2 separate regions of the Homo sapiens genome follow, and region 2 is linked to region 1. The links are contacts of gene promoters, found by promoter capture Hi-C in human tissues and cell types (Jung and others, 2019). All regions are on one chromosome and are shown on one strand. Each heading gives the region's core, a stretch centred on a gene start or on the middle of the fragment in contact. The rest is flanking DNA. Distances are from core to core; before and after follow the strand shown.

The links. Contacts are between HindIII fragments. The study calls those that stand out against the background at their distance.
Region 2: a fragment that was not itself captured here is called in contact with the fragment with the promoter of PTK7 in region 1 in 1 of the 25 tissues and cell types used here (hippocampus).

Annotation. Positions count from the first base shown.
Region 1 is chr6:43,072,671-43,079,112 of GRCh38, reverse strand. It overlaps PTK7 (protein tyrosine kinase 7 (inactive)), which reads right to left and starts at 2,799. Exons shown (of 20, transcript NM_002821.5): 1 at 2,546-2,799. The coding sequence starts at 2,624. It overlaps KLC4 (kinesin light chain 4), which reads right to left. Exons shown (of 16, transcript NM_201521.3): 13 at 6,149-6,289; 14 at 5,775-5,890; 15 at 5,148-5,211; 16 at 4,020-4,491. The coding sequence ends at 4,441. KLC4-AS1 (KLC4 antisense RNA 1) reads left to right here and starts at 2,883. Exons shown (of 2, transcript XR_002956347.1): 1 at 2,883-3,418; 2 at 3,846-4,780. RefSeq lists a silencer at 2,712-2,811 and an enhancer at 3,141-3,664. The HindIII fragment of the contact is 20,814 bases long and covers 1-6,442 here.
Region 2 is chr6:42,893,187-42,899,655 of GRCh38, reverse strand. No RefSeq gene overlaps it. Among named protein-coding and RNA genes, the nearest start is that of PEX39, 5.6 kb to the right of the region's middle. The HindIII fragment of the contact is 6,847 bases long and covers 556-6,469 here.

The DNA of each region.
Region 1 (6,442 bases), core at 1,550-4,049:
TATCTCCATTGCTTGAGCTCTGTCCACCACTCAATGCTGCTCTGAACACCAGGAGTTTGAGTATATCATTTGACAAGTGACAAGAAGAGCACCCTTGCCCTGCCACCATACTTCCCAACAGCTGAGAAAAGCCATCACTAATAAAAGCAACTCCTAGGCCTGAATTACAGGCTGCAGAGCCTTGAGGAATCTGCAGACAGCCTATCCCAGAACATGACGACTCAATTTCCCCAAAGAAACAAGAGCCCGGAGGAAAGAAACCAGGGAGGGGGATGGGAATTGGAATGAGAAGTGACCACAGCTGACTGTACAAGAGGTTGGGGTTAAGAATCCATAGTTTCAAACATCAAGCCTCCTCCTCCTCCACCATATTTATTACAACAGCATCTCAAAGTTTGGAAAGTAACTCTGCCATTTATGGCATAATTACCCAGACTTTAAAATGGTCTAATCCACAAACCTAGCCAGCCTAGGTTCCTTACTCCAGCCTTATTAACAGTGGGATCTCACTACAACTCCAGTTAATTACACAATTAAACAATGAGATGCAAACATCTACTGTGATCTATTAAAAAACCGTTGCCCCTGAAGTCATGCGTCTGGGGGTGGGTTGAGTCCCAGGATTTCACTAGAAGACAGCAGGCGCCTCGGCCTCCACTGAAATTGTTTACAGCACATGGACAGGTTCCACAACAAGGCACATTTGGTGGAATTGATTTAAGGCTCTCATTAAAATGTTCCTTTGTTGAGCACAAGACATCCCCCCACCCCTGAGGAGACTACAGACCTCCTGTCCTAAGCCCTCAGCCTGCCCTAACTTCCCCCAACAGGATCCCCCACACACACGCGCGCACACACACTAAACACCAACCAGTCACCAGATTAAGTCAATTAACATCAGAGTCATCTTCTCATGGAAGGAATTTAGGAATTCAGCATTTGTTGAGCAAGAGCCCCATCTTCACCAGAAACTCCCCTTGACTCTAGTACCCTGAACAGCAGCAGTGAAGGCAGCCTCATTGGGCAGACCCACACACCAAAACCCAACCAGGACAGCCAGGGGGCCTGTGAGCTTGGGCTGCTCGCCCAGATGGCTGGGCCCCCATCCTGGCTGTGCAAAAAAACTTCCATACTTCCTCTGGGAGCAGATGTGGATTCTGCCACGAGCAATAACCACCACACACATCACAAGAAAAACGGGGCAACTCCAGAAACACCTCCTCCAAATCCCTGGAGATTGGTCTCTTTCCTGGGTTACATTTACCTCTCCTTTTACAACTGGGGGCAGGGGAGATGTTGATTCCACCAGCACCAAAACCCCTCCACAGCTGGCAGGCCAGAAAGATATTAGAAAGGCAATTCCTTACCCATGCCCTTCCCATTGCCACCTTCAAAGGAGATGGAAGGTGATCACCTAGGACAGGTCTCCTCGACAGAGCTCCCCAAGAGAAAGCTGCTTCGAGGACCACCAAGGAGTGTTGTGGAGGGTCGGGGGCTTTATTTCCAGTCCGGGCTATTTGGGATGTGCGGGTGGCTTGGTGCTTTCCTGTAAGGCACTTCAACACCTCAGTGATGACTCTTAGGTGTGACCAAGCCAGGAAATAAAAGCTGCGGGAGTTGGGGGGGCGGTGCTGTCTGCCCTGGTGATGAGGGCCACACCCTCGTTAAAATGCTAAGGCCCCCCCCCAAGAAAAGCCAGAATGAGCTCTTTTTGCCTTTCTTCCCTTAGAAATACTTCCTTTCCTCTGTGAGGACAGTCAGGATGGAAATCCAGGAAGGAGCAGAACAAACCCCGTCCGCACCTTTGCAGCCAGGCCATGCCCGATTTTGGCAGCGGCCTTCACACATTAGTCACCGCGACAGCCTGGGACCCTCGGATCCCCGGATTCGGCCCTGGCACGGAGTGGGCGCAGGGTTCCAGACCAGTAGCTAGAGGCCATGGATGGGGGCGGCCCCTAACTCTTCCCTTCTTCCGCCCTCACCCGCAGGGCCATCTGGGGTCTCAGCTTTGCCCAGGAACTCGGAGGAGGGAAGCCGGGAACGTCGGGTCGGCGTAGGTAACAAAGCTCCGCGCTTTGCGCGCCGCAGGTCTGTCCGGCATCGGGCCCCAAACCAGCAACTCTTACCTGGGCCGACCCTGCCGGGTGGGGTGGGGAATTCCTTTTTCTCCATCGCGCTCCCCACGGTGGGTGCGGATGGTCTTTTCTCCCCCGACAAGAAACTCCCCATCTGGGCCCGAGAGCCAGCAACTCTCGGCAGTTCTCGAGCAAACTCTCGGCTCAGACCAGAAAAACTCAGGGAGGCTGGAAATGCGTCCCCGCGGCGCGAGTGGGAGGGGTACCCTGACCGCGTCCCTGGAGGCTTCGCCAGCCTCCCGACACCCGGGCTCCTTGCGCCCTTCCGCCGCAAGCCTGCACCCCCAGCGAGCCTCTCCACTACTCCAGGGCCGTTCCAGCCGCCCAAACCCACCGCCCCGGGCGCAGCCTTTTGCCCACGGGACTCCCGCGCTTCCCAAGCTCTGTGCCCCCAACTCTCGGGTACTCACCGCCCAGCAGCGGCAGCAGCAGGACGCTGAGCAGAGGCAACCGGCGGGGTCTGGCCGGGGATCCCCGCGCAGCTCCCATCGCGGCGGGCTCAGGAAAAGGAGCTGAGGGCGCACGGCGGGCGCGCAGACTGCGCTCCGCGGCGGGCACAGGAGGCGGAGCGCACCGGAGCGCGGGCGCCGCAGCAGCAGCCGCAGCCGGAGCCCGACCCCGAGGCGTCCCGAGGCGTCCCGAGCCGGAGCCGCGCGCGCCCAGTACCTCCGAGTCCCCGCGCGCCGCCGCCGCCGCCGCCAAGCCCCGCCCCACGACGCCCCCTCCCCTCCGGCCCCCGCACGGCGCCCCGCCCCCTCGACGCCCCCTCCTCGCCGAGGCGGGGAGGAGCTCAGTAGGGGGAGGGGTCTGGAGAGGGATGGAGAATAGAGAGAGCAAGGCTCAGGGAAGTGCAGGGGACCTGAGTATTTGCTGTACCCACCACCGACTCTGCAGGGATCCGGGAGAACCTAAGTGACTTGTGCGATTCCGTGGACCCTGGGGAGAATGGTCCATTCTGGGCATACCTGGAGGCTCTGGCCAACAGTTCCCCCAGAATTCTCCAGGTGGGGGCAGGGGAAGAGGCGGGCCCCGCCAACTCTTCAGCAACCCAAAATCTTAACGGCAGACCCAGAACAGCAGGGTGTCCTTAATGTCCCCAAGTAACCTGAAGATGCTGTGTAGCCCGGAGAGGGGCTGAAGTGTGCATGACTGGGGTCTGGTTTGGCTGTAGACCAATCTGAACCCAAAGGTAGAAACACGCTGGGCTCTGAAAGCCAGGCTGAAGTCTGCTAACTGACAAATTCATCCCAAGTCCATCTCCAGGCAGTCTGGGCTGTGTCAGGGTATGGCCAAGTCTCCAGCTGTGGGGAGGCCCAGCACAACCCTTGTTCCAGGCACCCCCACCCCCAGCGCCACCACCCCCACATTCTTTCTTTGTTGTGAAAGCAGCAAGGGGTGTAGGAGGCGGGTCAGGAGGAGTCAAGCTTTAGAAGATGGGCCCCAGCTGCTGCTCAGGCCTCCAAGATATGCTGAGAGGGGATGGATAGTGCCTTGTCTCCCCTCTGGTTCCGGAGGGCCCCCCAGGCCTGTTTAGACCTCCCTTCCCCCAAGCAGCTGGGAGGAGGAATGGCAGCCACAGAGGGCCTCACAGCCAGGAGAAGTGGCGCCAGGACTCCAGGGTCCTGCCACATGGCCACCACATGTCCCTGACAACCCAGTCCACAGCACCTTCTCCTTGGGTTGTGAGCCTCCTTCTTCCCCATCCCCCAGATGCCTTCCTACAGGCCCTGCTGGAGATGATACAAACAACGGGAGGAAGAGAGGAGAGATCCAAGAATCAACACTCCTCCTGCTGCTCCATCCATCACTGCCCCTCACCTTCTGTGAAGGGCCCCAACACAAGCCCTGCTTCATACCCTCTTCAATCAGGACTCAAGTCACAGAAAGGTTACCTGATTCTTTTATTTAAGAAAAGTGAAATACATGGACCTGAAGTGAGACAGCAGAGGGAGGGAGTAAGAGCGGCCAGGGCAAGGCAGCTTGGCTGGCCAGCCCCCAACCCTCTGACTGAAAAGCCAGCAGCAGGCTGCATCTCTGAGGGCCATACCTGCTTTGTACCCACCTTGGGGCCTCAGAGCTAGCTACTCTAGAGGACCACAGGGTGCAGAGAGGGTGTCCTGAGGGTCCTTCCTAAGAGGGATTCCTGAGGAGGGAGCTGAGACCCTAAGGGCAGCAGCAATCTTCTGGTTAAACTGCTCCCCTTCACTGTCCCACCTAGGGGTGGGGAAGAGCCAGGAGCAATGGGGAATGCTGTGAGGGCTGTGGGGGTGGGGGGACCCAGCAGACCTGGGGGCCGGGTTGAATGTCAGCTGCTTGAAGAGAGGTCCATGGTGCTGGCACTGAGGCCCCGGGAGACCTGAAACAGACAACACTACCCCATCAGCTCAGGGACCTCGGCCTCCCAAAGACTGGCTCCTAGAGTCCATCCATCCCATGGTCACAGTGTATCTCTGGACCTAGGATCACATCTGTCTCTGGACCAGTCTATCTCTGGACCTGGGACTTTGTTTAGCCTCTGCTAGGGTTTTCCAGAAGGCCACAATCTGGTGGAGAAGCTACCTGGAAGAACCACATGAATACTGGCATATACTTGTGTGTTGATACAAGAAGTCATTTGCCATTAAAATATCACTAGTGTTTTCTCAGATGGGGATTATTTAATACTTTTCTTTTTCCATTCTCATCTACTACTAAGGCGGCTGCAGGATGAAAAAATAATTCGTATCTCCAAATAATTCTTAAATTATTCATAATTCCAAAGTACCAGTTTACAGAATATTCCTATTTCCCTCCTTATTAACTTATTTGCTACTATGTCTGGCCTGAAACTGTCCCTTGGTGGTCAGCACTCACCACAAGCTATCTGCCTGATTCCTTAATGACTGCAATCCCCTGGCTCATCTTCATCCCAGATGACTCCTCTCCCTTCCCTCTTCCCTTACTCCACTGGGCTTGCTCACTGGCTGTCCTTTTTTCCTCACCCACCAATATGCTCACAAGCACTGCTCTCACCTGGAGGGGTGCTGCACTAGGTTGGTTCAGATAGTTCAAGGAGGCTGCTCGCTTCATGTTGCTGCTACAATGGAAAACGGAAGAATTGAGGCCTCCTCTCTTCCTCCTGAGTGGCCTTAAGGCTGTGGGCCTCTTGAGCACTGCCACACTGGGGCACCCATTCTACCCAAACTCTCTCTCCATGGCTGGCCCGTTGACTTCCTCCCTGTTTCTCTCCGAGATACTTCTCCAGAGATCAGGAGCCAAGAGGAGTTGGAGGCAAGGGCTTACTTTACTTGCCTGCTTTACCATATCTTTTTTTTTTTTCTTTTTTTTTTTGAGACGGAGTCTCGCTGTTGTCGCCTGGGCTGGAGTGCAATGGCATGATCTTGGCTCCCTGCAACCTCTGCCTCCTGGGTTCCAGCAATTCTCCTGCCTCAGCCTCCCAAGTAGCTGAGATTACAGGCACCTGCCACCACACCCGACTAATTTTTGTATTTTTAGGAGAGAGTTTCACCTTGTTGGCCAGGCTGGTCTCAAACTCCTGACCTCAGGTGATCCACCCGCCTCGGCCTCCCAAAGTGCTGGGATTACAGGCGTGAGCCACTGCACCCGGCCACTTTACTGTATCTTGACTTCCATGTATACCTGGAGGGCCGAGGCTCAGTCCCCTGGAGCTTCCTCACCAAGAGTTCACTGCTTCTGCGGAGCACATCCCGGATCTTGCCAAGAGAGCCACTCCTCTGCAGGGTCCCACTGCCATCCTGGCAGAAAGGAGTGAGCAATGAAAGCTACAAGGATCCCACACAGATGGGTTTCTGAGTCTACTCCTAGCATTTATTCTGCACACATCCCCCACCCCCAAGGCCCAGTGACTGGAAATAAAAGTCCTGTCAAAAACTGGCTCCCAGAGATACCCCTGAAGGAATACACTACCTAGACTGGGACAGCATGGCCAAGAGCCTCTCACCACCACCAGCAGGAGTGGGCAGGAGAGATGAAAAGGCAATGATCAGACTTACCCCGGACCACTCCACAGCCACAGAAGCATCTTCACCTCCCTCGAATTTCACACTGTCTCCAGGGCCCTCCTGGGAGGTCCTTCTACCATCACTCTCCCCAAGCAGCTCTGCCACCTTCGTCTGGCTGATAGGGTCAGTGCCCTGGAAGGAAAAGGAAGGACCTGGGACTTCCTACTCCTTAACTCCTCAGGATGGGGCTTTCAAATTTTTTTCACCATCAGCCACTGGAAGGAAAACATTTTTCCTTGTGATGTCTCAGTTTATACCTACTGGAATAATACTTACCTTTTCTAT
Region 2 (6,469 bases), core at 2,730-5,229, 180 kb after region 1:
GGTGATGGTGCTATCATTGCCTTAAATCAATGGCCCCAAAATTGGCCTAAACAAAAGCCTGTTACAGGACTTGTCGGCGTAGGCACTGCCTCAGAAGTGTATCAAAGTGCCATGAGTTTACATTGTCTAGGACCTGATGATCAAGAAAGTACAGTTCAGCCTATGATCACTTCTATTCCAATTAATTTATGGGGCCGAGACTTGTTACAACAATGGCATGCAGCGATTACTATCCCAGCCCCCAATACAGCCCCACGAGTCAAAAAATCATAACTAAAATGGGATATCTCCCTGAAAAGGGACTAGGAAAGAATGAAGACAGCATTAAAGTCCCAATTGAGGCTGAAAAAACTCAAAAAAGAAAAGGAATAGGGTATCCTTTTTAAGAGCGGCCACTGTAGAGCCTCCAAAACCCATTCCATTAACTTGGAAAACAAAAAAACCTGTATGGGTGAATCAGTGGCTGCTACCAAAACAAAAGCTGGAGGCTTTACACTTATTAGCAAAGGAACAATTAGAAAAGGGACATATTGAGCCTTCATTTTCGCCTTGGAATTCTCCTGTGTTTGTAATTCAGAAAAAATCCGGCAGATGGCGCGTGCTGACCGACTTAAGAGCCGTTAATGCTGTAATTCAACCCATGGGGGCTCTCCAACCTGGGTTGCTCTCTCCGGTCATGATCCCCAAAGATCGGCCTTTAGTTATAATTGATCTGAAGGATTGCTTTTTTACCGTTCCTCTGGCAAAACAGGATTTTGAAAAATTTGCTTTTACTATACCAGCCATAAATAATAAAGAACCAGCCACCAGGTTTCAGTGGAAAGTGTTGCCTCAGGGAATGCTTAATGGTCCAACTATTTGCCAGACTTTTGTAGCTCAAGCTCTTCAACCAATTAGAGACAGTTTTCAGACTCTTATATCATTCATTATGTTGATGATATTTTGTGTGCTACAGAAAGGAGAGACAAATTAATTGACTGTTACACATTTCTGCAGACAGAGGTTGCAAACGCAGGACTGACGACAGCATCTGATAAGATTCAAACCTCTACTCCTTTCCATTACTTGGAAATGCAGGTGGAGGAAACGAAAATTAAACCATAAAAAATAGAAATAAGAAAAGACACATTAAAAACATTAAATGACTTTCAAAAATTGCTAGGAGATATTAATTGGATTCAGCCAACTCTAGGCATCTCTACTTATGCCATGTCAAATTTGTTCTCTATCTTAAGAGGGGATCCAGAATTGAATAGTAAAAGAACATTAACTCCAGAAGCAACTAAAGAAATTGAATTAGTTGAAGAAAAAATTCGGTCAGCACAAGTAAATAGAATAGATCACTTAGCCCCACTCCAACTTTTGATTTTTGCTACTGCACATTCTCCAACAGGCATTATTGCTCAAAATACAGATCTTGTGGAGTGGTTCTTCCTTCCTCATAGTACAATTAAGACTTTTACATTGTACTTGGATCAAATGGCTACATTAATTGGTCAGGCAAGATTACGAATAATAAAATTGTGTGAAAGTGACTCAGATAAAATCATTGTTCCTTTAAACAAGGAACAGGTTAGACAAGCCTTTATCAATTCTGGTGCATGGCAGATTGGTCTTGCTGATTTTGTGGGAATTATTGACAATCATTACCCAAAAACAAAAATCTTCCAGTTTTTAAAATTGACTACTTGGATTTTACCTAAAATTACTAGACATAAACCTTTAGAAAATGCTCTGACAGTGTTTACTGATGGTTCCAGCAATGGAAAAGCGGCTTACACCAGGCCAAAAGAACGACTCATTGAAACTCAATATCACTGGGCTCAAAGAGCAGAGTTGGTTGCTGTCATTACAGTGTTACAAGATTTTAATCAGCCTATTAACATTGTATCAGATTCTGCATATGTAGTACAGGCTACAAAGGATGTTGAGACAGCCCTAATCAAATATAGTATAGATGATCAGTTAAACCAGCTGTTTAATATGTTACAACAAACTGTAAGAAAAAGAAATTTCCCATTTTATGTTACTCATATTCGAGCACATACTAATTTACCAGAGCCTTTAACTAAAGCAAATGAACAAGTTGACTTGCTAGTATCATCTGCATTCCTGGAAGCACAAGAACTTCATGCCTTGACTCATGTAAATGCAACAGGACTAAAAAATAAATTTGACATCACATGGAAACAGGCAAAAAATATTGTACAACATTACACCCAGTGTCAGATTCCACACCTGCCCACTCAGGAGGCAGGAGTTAATCCCAGAGGTCTGTGTCCTAATGCGTTATGGCAAATGGATGTCACACATGTACCTTCAGTTGGAAAATTGTCATTTCTCCATGTGACAGTTGATGCTTATTCACATTTTGTAAGGGCAAACTGCCAGACAGGAGAAAATACTTCCCATGTTAAAAGACATTTATTATCTTGTTTTGCTGTCATGGGAGTTCCAGAAAAAATTAAAACGGATAATGGGCCAGGATACTGTAGTAAAACATTTCAAAAATTCTTAAATCAGTGGAAAATTACACATACAACAGGAATCCCTTATAATTCCCAAGGACAGGCCATAATTGAAAAAACTGATAGAACACTCAAAGCTCAATTGGTTAAACAAAAAAAGGAAAAAAGACAGTAAGGAGTATAACACTCCCCAGATGCAACTTAATCTAGCACTCTATACTTTAAATTTTTTAAACATTTATAGAAATCAAACCACTACTTCTGCAGAACAACATTTTACTGGTAAAAAGAATAGCCCACATGAAGGAAAACTGATTTGGTGGAAAGACAAGAAAAATAAGACATGGGAAATAGGGAAGGTGATAACATGGGAGAGAGGCTTTGCTTGTGTTTCACAAGGAGAAAATCAGCTTCCTGGTTGGATACCCACTAGAAATTTAAAGTTCTACAATGAACCCCTTGGAGATGCGAAGAAAAGCGCCTCTGCGGAGACAAAAAACCCTCAATTGAGCATCATCGACTCGCCAGGTAAATAAAATGGTGATATCAGAAGAACAGATGAAGTTGCCATCCACCAAGGAAGCGGAGCCACCGACTTGGGCCCAATTAAAGAAGCTGACACAGTTAGCTAAAAAAAGCCTAAAGAACACAAGGGTAATGTGAACTCCAGAGAATATACTGCTTACAGCTTTGATTATTATATCAACGGTAGTAAGTCTCCCCATGTCTGCAGGAGCAGCTGCAACTAATTATACTTACTGTGCCTATGTGCCTTTCCCACCCTTAATTTGGGCAGTCACATGGATGGATAATCCTGTTGAAGTATATGTTAATAATAGGGCATGGGTACCAGGCCCCACAGACGATTGTTGCCCTGCCCAACCTAAAGAAGAAGGAATGATGATAAATGTTTCCACTGGGTATCATTATCCTCCTATTTGCCTAGGGAAGGCACCAGGATGTTTAATGCCTACAACCCAAAACTGGTTGGTAGAAGTACCTACCGTCAGTGCCACCAGTAAATTTACTTATCACATGGTAAGTGGAATGTCACTCGGGCCACAGATAAATAATTTAGAGGACGCTTCTTATCAAAGATCATTAAAATCTGGGCCTAAGGGGAAGCCTTGCCCCAAGGAAATTCCCAAAGAATCAAAAAGCCCAGAAGCCTTAGTTTGGGAAGAATGTGTGGCTAATACTGCGGTGGTATTACAAAACAATGAATTTGGAACTACTATAATATTATATAATAGTTATATATTATATTATATTATATACAATTATATTATATATAATTGTATGGGCCAGACTCACTCATGTTTACAGGCCCCATCCATCTGGCCCATTAATCCGGCCTATGATAGTGATTTAATTGAAAGGCTGGACCAGGTTTATAGAAGGCTAGAATCACCCTATCCCTGGAAATGGGGTGAAAAGGGAATTTCATCACCTCGACCAAAGTTAGTTAGTCCTGTTACTGGTCCTAAACATCCAAAATTATGGAAGCTTACTGTGGCCTCGCACTACATTAGAATTTGGTCTGGAAATCAAGCTACAGAAACAAGAAATCGTAAGCCATATTATACTATCAACCTAAATTCCAATCTGACAATTCCTTTACAAAGTTGTGTAAAACCCCCTTATATGCTAGTTATAGAAAACATAGTTATTAAACCAGATTCCCAAACTATAACCTGTGAAAACTGTAGATTGTTTACTTGCATTGATTTGACTTTTAATTGGCAGCGCCATATTCTGCTAGTGAGGGCAAGAGAAGGTGTGCGGATCCCTGTGTCCATGGACCGACAGTGGGAGGCTTCGCCATCTTCCATATTTTAACGGAAGTATTAAAAGGAATTCTAACTAGATCCAAAAGATTTTTACTTTGATTGCAGTGATTATGGGCCTTATTGCAGTCACAGCTACTGCTGCAGCTGCTGGAATTGCTTTACACTCCTCTGTTCAAACTGCAGAATATGTAAATGATTGGCGAAAGAATTCCTCAAAATTGTGGAATTCTCAGACCCAAATAAATCAAAAATTGGCAAACGAAATTAATGATCTTAGACAAACTGTCATTTGGCTGGGAAATAGGCTCATGAGCTTGGAATATCTTTTTCAGTTACAGTGTGACTGGAATATGTCAGATTTTTGTATTACACCCCAAGCCTATAATGAGTCTGAGCATCACTGGGACATGGTTAGATGCCATCTACAGGGAAGAGAAGATAATCTTACTTTAGATATTTCAAAATTAAAATAACAAAATTTTGAGGCATCGAAAGCCCATTTAAATTTGGGAACTGAGGCAATCGTGAAAGCTACTGATGGCCTCACAAATCTTAACACTGTCACTTGGTTAAAAACCATCAGAAGTTCCACTATTGTAAATTTCATATTAATCCTTGTATGCCTGTTCTGTCTGTTGTTAGTCCACAGGTGTATCCACCAGCTCCGAAGAGACAGCGACCAGCAAGAACGGGCCATAACGACGATGGCAGTTTTGTCAAAAAGGGGGATATGTAGGGAAAAGAGAGATCCGACTGTTACTGTGTCTACATAGAAAAGGAAGACATAAGAAACTCCATTTTGATCTGTACCCTGAACAATTGTTTTGCCTTGAGATGCTGTTAATATGTAACTTTAGCCCCAACCTTGTGCTCACGGAAATATGTGTTGTATGGAATCAAGGTTTAAGGGATCTAGGGCTGTGCAGGATGTGCCTTGTTAACAAAATGTTTACAGGCAGTATGCTTGGTAAAAGTCATCGCCATTCTCCATTCTCGATTAACCAGGGGCACAATGCACTGCAGAAAGCCACAGGGACCTCTGCCCAGGAAAGCCAGGTATTGTCCAAGGTTTCTCCCCACTGAGACAGCCTGAGGTATGGCCTCGTGGGACGGGAAAGACCTGACCATCCCCCAGCCCGACACCCGTGAAGGGTCTGTGCTGAGGAGGATTAGTAAAAGAGGAAGGCCTCTTGCGGTTGAGATAAGAGGAAGGCCTCTGTCTCCTGCATGCCCCTGAGAACGGAATGTCTCAGTATAATACCCGATTGTACATTCGTTCTATTCTGAGATAGGAGAAAACCGCCCTGTGGCTGGAGGCGAGATATGCTGGTGGCAATACTGCTGTGTTATTCTTTACTACACTGAGATGTTTGGGTGGAGAGAAGCATATATCTGGCCTATGTGCACATCCAGGCATAGTACCTTCCCTTGAACTTATTTGTGACACAGATTCCTTTGCTCACATGTTTTCTTGCTGACCTTCTCCCCGCTATCACCCTGTTCTCCTGCTGCATTCCCCTTGCTGAGACAGTGAAAATAATAATCAGTAAATGCTGAGGGAACTCAGAGACTGGGGCCAGTGCAGGTCCTCCGTACGCTGAGCGCTGGTCTCCTGGGCCCAGTGTTCTTTCTCTATACTTTGTCTCTGTGTCTTATTTCTTTTTTTAGTCCCTCGTCCCACCTGACGAGAAATACCCGCAGGTGTGGAGGGGCAGGCCACCCCTTCAAAATTCTTTATTATACAACATTCAATATGGTCAGTTTCCTCCAGACTGGCTTCTCAAGCTCTTACCAAGTGCCCCCTACCCCAATTTTTTTTTTTTTAACAGAGTCTCTGTTGCTCAGGCTAGAGTGCAGTGGAACAATCTTGGCTCACTGCAGCCTCAACCTCCTGAGCTCAAGTGATACTCCAGCCTCAGCCTTCCAAGTAGCTGGAACTACTGGTGTGTGCCACCACATCCAGCCAATTTTTGTTTTTGGAGGGGGTCTCACTATGTTGCCCAGGTTAGTCTTGAACTCCTGGGTTCAAGTGATCCTCCTGCCTTGACCACTCCCAAAGTGCTGGGATTATAGGCGTGAGCCACTGCACCGGGCCTACCCCAACTTTTTATTTTGACAAGTTTCAAACCCTCACGTGGATTCACTAATTCTTAGCAATTTTGCCACATTTGCTTTCTTTCTGTCATCATGACACTTCACCTCTACATACTT